Linked DNA regions of Homo sapiens: region 2 is linked to region 1. Evidence: promoter capture Hi-C in 16 types of primary human blood cells and fetal thymus (Javierre and others, 2016). All regions are on one chromosome and are shown on one strand. The core of a region is centred on a gene start or on the middle of the fragment in contact, and the rest is flanking DNA. Distances in the headings are between cores, read along the strand shown.

Evidence for each region. Contacts are between HindIII fragments. The CHiCAGO score rates a contact against its expected background, and 5 or more counts as called.
Region 2: a contact is called between the fragment with the promoter of CEP19 here and a fragment that was not itself captured in region 1, in 1 of 17 cell types (fetal thymus). The highest score is 5.2, in fetal thymus.

The regions. Positions count from the first base shown.
Region 1 is chr3:196,075,702-196,081,519 of GRCh38, forward strand. It overlaps TFRC (transferrin receptor), which reads right to left. Exons shown (of 19, transcript NM_001128148.3): 2 at 1,363-1,421. The coding sequence starts at 1,398. Among named protein-coding and RNA genes, the nearest start is that of TFRC, 3.5 kb to the right of the region's middle. RefSeq lists an enhancer at 4,641-5,140. The HindIII fragment of the contact is 1,767 bases long and covers 3,437-5,203 here.
Region 2 is chr3:196,709,664-196,715,976 of GRCh38, forward strand. CEP19 (centrosomal protein 19) reads right to left here and starts at 2,587. Exons shown (of 3, transcript NM_032898.5): 1 at 2,266-2,587. It overlaps PIGX (phosphatidylinositol glycan anchor biosynthesis class X), which reads left to right and starts at 2,714. Exons shown (of 6, transcript NM_017861.4): 1 at 2,714-2,981. The coding sequence starts at 2,870. RefSeq lists silencers at 2,337-2,649, 2,484-3,113. The HindIII fragment of the contact is 5,927 bases long and covers 1-3,290 here.

The DNA.
Region 1 (5,818 bases), core at 3,070-5,569:
TAGGGGCACAAATCAGTTCAGGATACTATGCAGTAACCCAGACCATGATGTTGGTGGGAGCAAGGGAGCAAGAATAAAACAAAGTTATAAATAAGCAGAAATTCTGACTAAGCATAAGATAGAAGACAGAAAAGAGAGAATAGACCAGACACAGTGGCTCATGCCTGTAATCCCAGCACTCTGGGGGGGGCCGAGGCACACAGATCATTTATGGTCAGAAGTTTGAGACAAGCCTGACCAACATGGTGAAATCCCCTCTCACTAAAAATTCAAAAAAAAAAAAACCACTAGCTGGGCATGGTGTCGCACGCCTGTAATCTCAGCCACCCAGGAGGCTGAGGCAGGAGAATCGCTTGAACTCAGGAGGCGGAGGTTACAGTGAGCTAAGATTGCACACTGCATTCCAACCTGGGCAACAGAGCCCAGGCTGAGACTCCATCTCAAAAAATAAAATAAAAATAAATAAATAAATAAATACAAATAAGAGAGAATTGAGGTCTAGACAGAGTGTTAAGAGTTAGGCTCCTTCTCGTCATGGCCTGGATGGCTGTTTTTTTTGTATGTTCTTTCAGCTTTCACTCATACTGTCTACTCAATGTTTCTTAAAATTTCATTTTTTTTTTAATAGAGATGGGCTTGCTATGTTGCCCAGGCAAGTCTCAAACTCCTCAAGTGATCCTCCTGCCTCACCTCCCAAACTGCTGGGATTGCGGGAGTGAGCCACCACACTTGGCCTCATTCAGCCTTTGCTTTTTTTTTTTTTTTTGAGACGGAGTCTCACTCTGTTGCCCAGGCTGGAGTGCAATGGCGTGATCTCAGCTCATTGCAACCTCCGCCTCCCGGGTTCAAGCAATTCTCCTGCCTCAGCCTCCCAAGTAGCTGGGACTACAGGCATGCGCCATGACACTCAGCTAATTTTTTTTTTTTTTGTATTTTTAGTAGAGACCGAGTTTCACCATGTTGGTCAGGCTGGTCTTGAACTCCTGACCACAGGTGATCCACCCACCTCAGCCTCCCAAAGTGCTGGGATTACAGGCGTGAGCCACAGCGCCCCGCAAGCCTTTGCTTTTTACTTCTCCTACTAAAACATTTTGATCAGGGCTTTAATTCGTCTTATCTACTAAGCTGTCCCCGTCTACCACACCCAGAACCACTCTGAGAATTCTTCCAAGACTTTCCATAATTAACCCTACTGAAGGCTGAACTCTTTGTGAGATCAGTTATGCCTCAAGACTACCAATTCAAATGTAAATGAATACCTGATAATAGATTGGGGTTATTATTTCATGCTTACTCAGTTAAAGTCATGCTTGTATATTTCACATTCTTGCAGACACAGAAATACAACTGAAAATATCTTACCAAGTTAGAGAATGCTGATCTAGCTTGATCCATCATTCTGAACTGCCACACAGAAGAACCTAGGTATCAGAATAGAGAATTATTGAGAAAGATACTACTGTATCAGATTAGTGAGCTTTCTATTACCAGGCTAAATGATACATTAAATTTTTAAAATACATTATCACTTTTCTAGAAAAGGTATTTAACCATAGTTTACATGACAACTAAATTAAGTGGGATCCTTTTTAAAGTTTGTTATATACATAATTCTTTTTTTTTCTTTTTGTAGAGACAAGGTCACCCTATGTTGCCCAGGCTGGTCTTGAACTCCTGGCCTCAAACAATCCTCCCACCTTGGCCTCCCAAAGTGCTGCAATTATAAGTACGAACCACTATGTTCTGAGTAGACAAAAGTGACACATACTGCTGGGCGGGGTGGCTCACACCTGTAATCCTAGCACTTTGGGAGGCTGAGATGGGTGGATCACCTGAGGTCAGGAGTTCAAGACCAGCCTGGCCAACATGGAGAAACCCTGTCTCTACTAAAAATACAAAAATTAGCCGGACGTGGTGGTGGGCGCCTGTAATCCCAGCCACTCGGGAGCCTGAGGCAGGAGAATGGCGTGAACCCAGGAGGTGGAGCTTGCAGTGAGCCAAGATCGCGCCACTGCACTCCAGCCTGGAAAACAAGAGCAAAACTCTGTCTCAAAAAAAAAAGAAAGTGACACATACAAAAAGACAAAATTAAGACTAAGGCAGACAAGACCAGTTATGCTACAAATACCACAAACCATCTCCAATGGGAAGGGGAAGAAATACTGATCCTGACTGAATGAATAGTTCCTACAAGTGATTCGATCTTTGACACAAGAAGAAACATGAAACACAGATTACGCTGTTTTACAGATGAAGAGGCCAGTTATTAGAGAAACTAAGTGGCCTGTTCAAGGCTGAAAATTGATAATCTAAGCGAAGTTAAATGGGTTACTGGGTTATAGAAATTGTGTTATCATCTCTGGAAATTTAAGACATTAACCTTAACTTTTGTCAAAGCAAAATACATCTCTGTAATCAAAGTCCTAAGTTAAGTTAAAGGCCTTAACTGAAATCTGAATTTTCCAGTTAATTTGGTTTGAGGGCATCTAGATACTTGAAAATGACATTATCCTGAGATTTGCAAAATGGACATTTATTGGATACCATTTTAAAGCTTTTCCTATATACGAGTACACTTAGGGCATATTAAACACACACGGCACAAAGCAAGCTGTGAGGTATACGCAAATTGTAAAGCAAAGGGTATTATAACTGGCATTAAGAAAAAGCTTTCTGGCCAGGCACGGTGGCTCATGCCTGTAATCCCAACACTTTGGGAGGCCGAGGCAGGTGGATCACGAGGTCAGGAGTTTGAGACCAGCCTGGCCAAGGTGGTGAAACCCCATCTCTACTAAAAATACAAAAATTAGATGGGCGTGGTGGTGGGCACCTGTAATCCCAGCTACTGGGGAGGCTGAGGCAGGAGAATCGCTTGAACCCGGGAGGTGGAGGTTGCAGTGAGCCGAGATGGCACCACTGCACTCCAGCCTGGGTGACGGAGTGAAACTCCATCTCAAAAAAATAATAAAAAAGAAAAAGAAAAAGCTCTAAAACCTATTACAAAAAATTCTTTTTAAATTCAAGCTTTAAAAACCAGTGTCCATATGCAATAGACCATATTCTTAGAAGCATAATCTTTTTTTTTTTCTTGAGACAGAGTTTCGGTCTTGTTGCCTAGGCTGGAGTGCAATGGCAGGATCTCGGCTCACTGCAACCTCCCCCTCCCGGGTTCAAGCCATTTTCCCACCTCAGACTCCGAGTAGCTGGGATTACAGGTGCCCACCACCATGCCCAGCTAATTTTTGTATTTTTAGTAGAGACGGGATTTTACCACGTTGGCCAGGCTGGTCTGGAACTTCTGACCTAGGGTGATCCACCCACCTGGCCTCCCAAAGTGCTAAGATTAGTTACTTGATAAGAACATCCCAAGGAAATCGAAGGCGTGAGCCACTGCGCCCAGCCAGAAGCACAATCTTTTGCCCCTTCTGTTACAAAAAGCTTATCACTACCACTCCACCAGAACAGTAAGGACCCAATCATTAGAGCCAGAACTGGAAGGCCCCACCCTGAACCAATTTTAATCATCCTTTTCTAGGAAAAAACATCTTGCAAGTTTTAACACTCATCTGAACCATCATTCCTCAAGTTTTCTTGTTTTAAATTAATTTTAAGAACACAAAGCGATGGCCGGGCATGGTGGCTCACGCCTGTAATCCCAGCAACACTTTGGGAGGCCGAGGCGAGCAGATCACCTGAGGTTGAGAGTTTGAGACTAGCCTGACCAAACATGGAGAAATCCCATCTCTACCAAAAAAATACAAAATTAGCCGGGCATGGTGGCGCATGCCTGTAATCCCAGCTACTGGGGAGGCTGAGGCAGGAGAATCACTTGAACCTGGGGGAGGTGGAGGTTGCAGGGAGCCGAGATCACACCATTGCACTACAGCCTGGGCAACAAGCGTGAAACTCTGTCAAAAATAAATAAATAAATAATAATCTAAGCTACTTGTGTTATCTTTGGTGTTCTCAATGGTGACTGAAAACAACAATTCAATTTCTCACATTAATAATGAAGCTCAGGTAGGCAAAACGTAGCCCCACGTTTTGAACCATGAAATGGAACACATTCACTGCCTAACAACTTCACTACCCTCTATTTTCTCCAAAATCAGACAGAATCCAGCCCCTGTTTTTACCCACCAACATTCTTCTCTGTTCCTTGAGGTCCTCCTCATTTCTTCCAGGCTCAGCTCAAGGCTTCATCTCTATGAAGCCTTCTCTGACTGACTTCCCTATCCTGTAATAACTGGTATTGAACTACCTGATAATGAGTAAAAATATTGTCTTTAACAGTACTGGGGCATGCCTGATGCATGAGATTCCAAATGATATGAAAAATATAATGAAAACATTGGACCAGGAATCTTTTCCCGTCCCCATCACTCTTCTGGTTTAGTAGGGAGTTTTTTTGTTGTTGTTTTTGAGATGGCATCTCGCTGTCGCGCAGGCTGGAGTGCAGTAGCACGATCTCAGCTCACTACAACCTCTGCCTCCCAGGTTAAAGCGACTCTCGAGCCTCAGCCTCCTGAGTGGCTGGGATTACAGGTGTGCACCACCATGCCCAGCTAATTTTTGTATTTTTCGTAGAGACGGGGTTTCACCATGTTGGCCAGGCTAGTCTCGAACTCCTCACCACAAGTGATCCACCTGCCTCGGCCTCCCAAAGTGCTGGAATTACAGACGTGAGCCACCATGCCCGGCTAATTTTTGTGTTTTTAGTAGAGACAGGATTTCACCATGTTAGTCAGACTGGACTCGAACTCCTGACCTTAGGTGATCCGCCTGCCTTGGCCTCCCAAAGTGCTGGGATTACAGGCGGGAGCCAATGCGCCCAGCCGAGGGTCATTTTTAACTAGCATTGTGATCGATTCAGGTTTAGCTGGGAATCTTGCTCCATGACATTTAAATACATTATCAGAGGCAAGTAACTGCCTCGCCTTAGGGCGGAGTTAGCCAAACTGCTGTCTATCTAACAATCTTCAACACAGGCTAGGTTTACAGCCACCATTACTTGATAAGAACATCCAAAGGAAATTGAAGGATGCTATGCTATATATAACCTTGCAAAATCGATGACAAAAATTATCTTAACTCTGAGTTTTCTTGAGAAGCATATTGTAACCCAAAATTCAGGGCCGGGGGGCGGGGGGAACCAGCAGGGTCCACAAGTACTCTAGACAGCCTAACCTTAATTTTCACAGTAAGCTTAGCATATAAGCATGGGGTAGCCAAATACAATTTCCTACTTTAATCCTCTTATCAACGGGGAAGAAAATGGAAAAAGCTGCAGAATCCAGTCCCCCGGGTAAGTGAGGTCTCTACAAGCAGTAAGCAGAGGGAAAGCGTTATCCGAAAAGAGCCGAATCAGAATGTATTTTCTTACCCACCCTCCCAACCTTAAAAGAACTGTCCAGCAGAATGTGACACAATCGGCCTCTCCGGCGCCCATCAATCCAGCACAGCCCTCTGACCACACCGCTAATCTCCAAGTATCTTTCACAAATAAGTCACTCCTATGGCTCCCGTCTTGTAGTGAGAACTGCTAGCAATATTCTTAATGTGAACACCTGCGGCGTTCAGTCGGATTCTGCCTTGAGAAAACAGAATCCACACACAAGGCGAACAGGCAGAGCATGGCAAGATCAGGTTGTACCAGAGCCGAAGGGTAAGTTTACAGAAACCCGTATCTAATTAATGCCTGTAACACGCTAGTAACCGAATCGGGGACAGCTTTGTCCCTTTCCGCAGTGAGAACGGGGCCCGCCCGGAGCCCGGGGAACCGAAGGTTTAGGAGCCCAAGGTCACCCACGAATCCCAG
Region 2 (6,313 bases), core at 1,337-3,836, 630 kb after region 1:
TATTTTGGCCTGTGTGTCTCACTATATGATAATTTTCTAGCTACAAGAAACAGCTATTTGTAGATGAATACTTACTATTCTCTCTTCCTTTCCCCACCCTCAGTGCCCAAAGAATACACTTAACCCTAAGCACTGCTTTTGATGTGACTGTGACATTCCCAGAAAGATTTGTAAATGTCAAGAAACATTGAGGTAAAGTGGCATAGGGTGATGATATCTTCGTGAACTCAGTTCTGCTGGAGAATCACTATTAGGAACATACTTTTTATTAAATACTTAGCAGTGATTATACACGTCATTGTAGAATACTGGGGGCAAAGGAGAGGGGAAACCTATAGAAAATAATCACCCTTGATTGTGTCCAGTCTTTTTTCTAGGCATATAGTTTATAGTATGTTTCATACATACCTTATCATACAAGCTATTTCCTGACGTTCAAATTTAACAACATATATTATTATTTTGTCATCAAATGTTTTACTACAATGTAACATTTTATATGACTGCTAAATGTTTTATTTTATGGATGTACTATAATCATATTATTCACCACTTATTGTTGGGCATGAGAATTTTTACTCTTAGAAAATTAATCACATATAAGCCCAGGCACAGTGGCTCACCCCAGCCAGCACTTTGGGAGGTCAAGGTGGGCAGATCATTTGAGGTCAGGAGTTCGAGACCAGCCTGGCCAACATGGTGAAAACCACGTCTGTACTAAAAATACAAAAATTAGCTGGACATAGTGGCAGGTGCCTGTAATCCCAGCTACTCGAGAGGCCAAGGCAGGAGAATCACTTGAACCTGGGAGGCGGAGGTTGCAGTGAGCTGAGATGGTACCACTGCACTCCAGCATGGGTGACAAGAGCAAGACTCCATCTCAAAAAGATGGAGGCAGGTGTGGTGGCTCAGGCCTGTAATCCCAACACTTTGGGAGGCCAAGGAGAGGAGATACCTTGAGGCCAGGAGTTTGAGACCAGCCTGGGCAACACAGCGAGACCATGCATGTCTCTACAAAAAATTTAAAAATTGGCCAGGCATGGCAGCATGCACCTGTAGTCCCAGCCACACCAAAGGCCAAGGTGGGAGAATCGCCTGAACCCAGGAGTTTGGGGCTGCAGTGAGTTGAGATGGTGCCACTGCACAACAGCCTCTCCAAAGCATGATACGCCTATTCTTAAAAAAAAAAAAAAAAAAAAAAAAAACTACTTTAAAAAATTACTGTGCTCTACCTCTAATCTGATGCAATGAGCTCACACCATTTCTCCTTCTTTTCCTTCTCTTTTCTTGCTTTTTTTTTTTTTTTAACGAATACTATTCCCAATTCACCTAACTAAAATTTGATGTTAGTAAACTACAACCTACGGGGCACATATAAACTCCACACACTGAAGCAATGGCTGTACTCGTCAAAGATGTATGCAGTTGGTACTCAAATAATGTAGTTTTTTTTTTACTAGACTCTTTTTAAAATTTAACTTTAATTTTTGCTAAAGTAATGTTTGTATTTGGAATATAAAATAATTCTATGAGGCTTATAACAACAAACTATCGTCCTTGGCCCTACTCCTCTTCATAGGGAGCCAGACTGAATTTTAAAAGGCATATCTTCCAAAATTTCTCTCTCCATTTCTTAAGAAACATGCTTATACTACCATTTTCAGTTTTTTTTTTTCTTTTGAAACAGAGTCTCCCTCTGTCGCCTAGGCTGCAGTGCAGTGGCGTGATCTCCCCTCGCTGCAACCTCCGCCTCCTGGGTTCAAGCGATTCTCGTGCCTCAGCCTCCCGAGTAGCTGGAATTACAGGTGCCTACCACCATGCCCAGCTAATCTTTGTATTTTCAGTAGAGACGGGGTTTCGCCATCTTGGCCAGGCTGGTCTCGAACTCCTGACCTCAGGTGATTCGCCCAAAGTGCTGGGGCTATAGGCGTGAGCCACCTGCCCGGCTATTTTCAGTTTTGGATAGTATGTTTTGACATACACTCTGTTTCCTCTTTGAGACACCCGCTCTAGAGCCCTCTATTCCACTCCAAGCCGCCTGGATGCTCTCTTGGCCTGCTTACAGATTCCACTCTGTTTAGGAAGAAGGACGGCACGTTTATCCAATTATTCTTCCTGGACACGAATACTCCTCTCCCCAGAGATCAGTAACTGCCCACAATCTTGTTAGGAAGCCCCACAGCACCTAAGGGTACGAATGTCCCCAAAGAGTAGACGATTCTCTCCCTACTCACGTCTCCACTAGTGCAAGGCTGGCTTTCTTACCCTTAGAGGAATACAGAAATGACATCGTCTGCAGGCCAACGTCTAAACAACCAGGAGTGGGTTTTTCCACCCAACCGCAGTGCACGCAAAGCCCCTAAGCCGACTGTGAGACCGGGCGGAGCCTGGCGCTGCAGGAAGAGGCGACAGCCACAGCCCTACTGACGAGCCCGAGGGGTGAACTCCCCGGCGGGAGGCCCGAACCCTCAAACACCGGGAAGCGGAGGTGGGGGCCGGCTGGGGGACCGGTCCACCGGCTCCCACCTCGGCGTACAGGGATTCCAGGTCCCGGCGAGCGCTGGCCTAGCGGTTTCCACAGCGACAGGCCGGGCGCGCGTCCCCGCGCGTGCGCAGCTCCTCGCCCGCCCCCGGGTGGGCGGAGCAAGGAACAGCTGGGCGGGGACGACCGCCCCACGCCGCGCGGGAACCCTTGGGGGCCGGGGCTGCAGGCAGCTGGGAACCGCGGGCGCTAGGCGCGCGCACCCAGCACTCGGTCCCAGCCGATAAATCTGGGGCAGCGCGCGGTAGGAGCTGCGGGCGGCCAGGCCCCTTCCTGCGTCCGCACCTGGCCCCGCGCGCCCCTCTCGGGCGTCCGGCTTCCGGCGTCCTGGCGGCTCGGGTGGCGGCGGTTCGGGCGGCCGCCTGGCTGCTCCTCGGGGCGGCGACCGGGCTCACGCGCGGGCCCGCCGCGGCCTTCACCGCCGCGCGCTCTGACGCCGGTAAGGGGGGCGGGGCTTGGGGGGCCAGAGCGTGGGAGCGGTCCCGGCTCCCGGGCCTCTCGGCGGGTTGCGGGGATGTGGGGACCCGGCGCGGGACCTAGATCAGTAGGGCGAGCCGGAGGAGGTCAGACACTAGAGCCGTGTGCCCTCCTTCCCTCCCGTGCGCTTTGCTCTGCGGCGGATCCCGGGTCTCCGGGAGAGTCGGGCTCGGGCCCTGCGGTTCCCAGGCTGGACTGGCCGCCCTGTTACTAAAGTTCTGAGAAGGAAAGTCAGCCGTCAAGCGTCTTGGGATGCTCTTGAGCTGCACGAAGCTTCTGATCACCAAGGGGCCAGGCAAGGCCTTAGCGCCCTGTGAGGCCTGAGAATCCCCAAACTGAATGTAGGACTCCGTGGCAAACTGCTAGTTGTTCGTGCAAGTAGTAGTTGGCAAACTGCTTGTACTACTGAGACGGGCAAGTGCGGGAATAATTACAATAAAGGGTAAGGTTTGATGGGAGGAAAGCACAAACCCTACAAGTTTCTCCATCTGTAAAATGAGGATGTTTCTGTCATCCTTGGTATCATTTAGATCCGTTTAGTATCTGTCAATCAGTGCAGTTCTGCTTGTGTGTTTACATATTGGGTTTTCAAGTTTATCTAAACAAAGGATTATGAGGCCAAGAAGATTTTTTTTTTGAGATGGAGTCTCACTCTGTTGCCAGGCTGGAGTGCAATGGCGCGATCTCGGCTCACTGCAACCTCCGCCTTTCCCAAGTTCAAGCAATTCTTCTGCTTCAGCCTCCCAAGTAGCTGGGATTATTACAGGTGCCCGCCACCATGCCCAGCTAATTTTTTGTATTTTTAGTAGAGACGGGGTTTCGCCGTATTGGTCAAGCTGGTCTTGAACTCCTGACCTCAGGTGGTCCACCCTCCTCAGCCTCCCAAAGTGCCAGGATTACAGGTGTGAACTACCATGCTCGGCCAGAAGAATTTTTAAACAGTTGGATTTGGTAATCTGTAGAGGCTTCCAACGTTAGCATTTTATAATTGAAAAGGGGTCAAAATTAGCGGGGCGTGATGGCGTGCCCCTGTAGTCCCAGCTACTCAGGGGGCTAAGGCAGGAGAATCGCTTGAACTAGGGAGGCGGAGGTTGCAGTGAGCCGAGATCGCGCCATTGCACTCCAGCCTGGGTGACAGAGGGAGACTCTGTCTCAAAAAAAAAAAAAAAAAGGAAAAAGAAGTCAATTTCCAGAGCCAGTTCACCACTACCAAAGTAATAGTTAAGAGGAAAAATGTTGAAGGTAAATTCACATTCAACAAATTCGTTTTAAAAATGGTACTTTTGCCTTTAAAATCATGACATTCTAGTATTTGCTGTACTATTTGTAAATTAGCCTTTCTCCGGTCCCAATGATCAACTGCTGTCTGGTGTACATACCAGTAGAATTTAAGCCTGTTCATAATTTTTCTTCTAATTTAATTTATAGTTGGATAGCAGTCCTCACTTCCCACCCTACCCCCATTAAAATTAAACAGGATGAAGAAAGATCTGGATTTGTGCTGGGCACAGTGGCTCACACCTGAAATTCTAACACATTGGGAGGCTGAGGTGGAAGGATTGCTTGAGGCCAAGAGTTCAAGACCAGCCTGGAAAACATAGCAAGACCCTGTCTCTGCAAAAAAATTTAAAAGTAGCCAGGTGTGGTGGCGTGGGCCTATAATCCTAGCTACTTGGGAGGCCGATGTGGGAGGATTGCTTGAGCTCAGAAGTTCAAGGCTGCAGTGAGCTGTGATCATGCCACTGCATTCCAGCTTGTGTGACAGAGTAAGGCCCTGTCTCTTTTTTTTTTTTTTTTTTTGAGACGGAGTCTTGCTCTCTTGCCAGGCTAGTGCAGTGGCGCAATCTCGGCTTATTGCAACCTTCACCTCCCAGGTTCAAGCGATTCTCCTGCCTCAGCCTCCCAAGTAGCGGGAACTACAGGTGCACACCACGACGCCCGGCTAATTTTTTGTATTTTAGTAAAGACGGGGTTTCACCATGTTGGCCAGGTTGGTCTTAAACTGTTGACCTTGTGATCTGCCTGCCTCCCCCTCCCAAAGTGCTGGGATTACAGGCATGAGTCACTGCACCCAGGCTATTTGTTCTTTTTTTTAAGAGGCAGAGCCTTGCTCGGCTGGGCGCTGTGGCCCATGCCTGTAATCCCAGCATTTTGGAAGGCCAGGGTGGGCAGATCACCAGGTCAGGAGATCGAGACCAGCCTGGCCAACGTGGTGAAACTCCATCTCTACTAAAAATACAAGAATTAGCCGGGCGTAGTGGCGCGTGCCTGTAGTCCCAGCTACTCTGGAGGCTGAGGCAGGAGAATTGCTTGAACCTGGGAGGCAGAGGTTGCAGTGAGCCAAGATCGTGCAACTGCAGTGCAGCCTGGCAACAGAGTGAGACTCCGTCTCAAAAAATAAATAAATAAATAAATAAAAATAAAAAAAGAACAAATAAAAATCTGGATTGGTACAAGATACATATGGAATTTGGGGATTTGTTTATTCAGGAAAAGATCATATGCTTCTCCAAAGCAAATACAATTTCTTTTTTGAGGGCTGGAGATTTTTCAGTGAAATGTAACTAGACAAATTCTCGAAGAGCTGTAACACTAAAATTTCATTCAATTTTAGTGTTGAAAGTGGAAGTATCTTAGGCTTTAAAAATCAGGCAAACCTTTCTTCTAATCGGTCACGTAGTTAGTTGTATGACCCAGGGCCATTTACTAATGCTTTAGAAGTTCAAGTTTCCTCCTGCAAACAAATGGCAGTGATTTTGCTTATTTTGCTATAGATCGTGAAAGTTAAAACACATATGAAAGCACCAAGTAGAGGATCTAGCATGTTAGATATTATTTAACCAGTTATTTTTTTCTATTCTTTTTTCATTCCTTCAAATAGTTTCACCTTCACATCATTTTTCTTAATGCATCTTTTCAGAAATACATCTAATGGATTCAGCAATATTCAATGATAATAACAGGATTATGTAAATAATATATAGTTTTCTGTATGTGTTTGGGGTTTGTTTGTTTGTTTTGAGACAAGGTCTGGCTTTGTCACCCAGGCTGGAGTGCAGTGGTGCAGTCTCTGCTCACTGCAGCCTCCCTCTGCCTCCTGGCCTCAAGCCATGCTCCCACCTCAGCCTCCTAAGTAGCTAATTTTTGTATTTTTCTTAATGGAGATGGAGTCTTGCTATGTTGTCCAGGCTTGTGTGTGTTTTTTAAATGTTCTTCCCACAGATTTACAGCTTTTGAAATGGGACAAAGTTCCATAGCAAATGCCTGGCAGAGTTGCTGGTCAATAGTAACTGA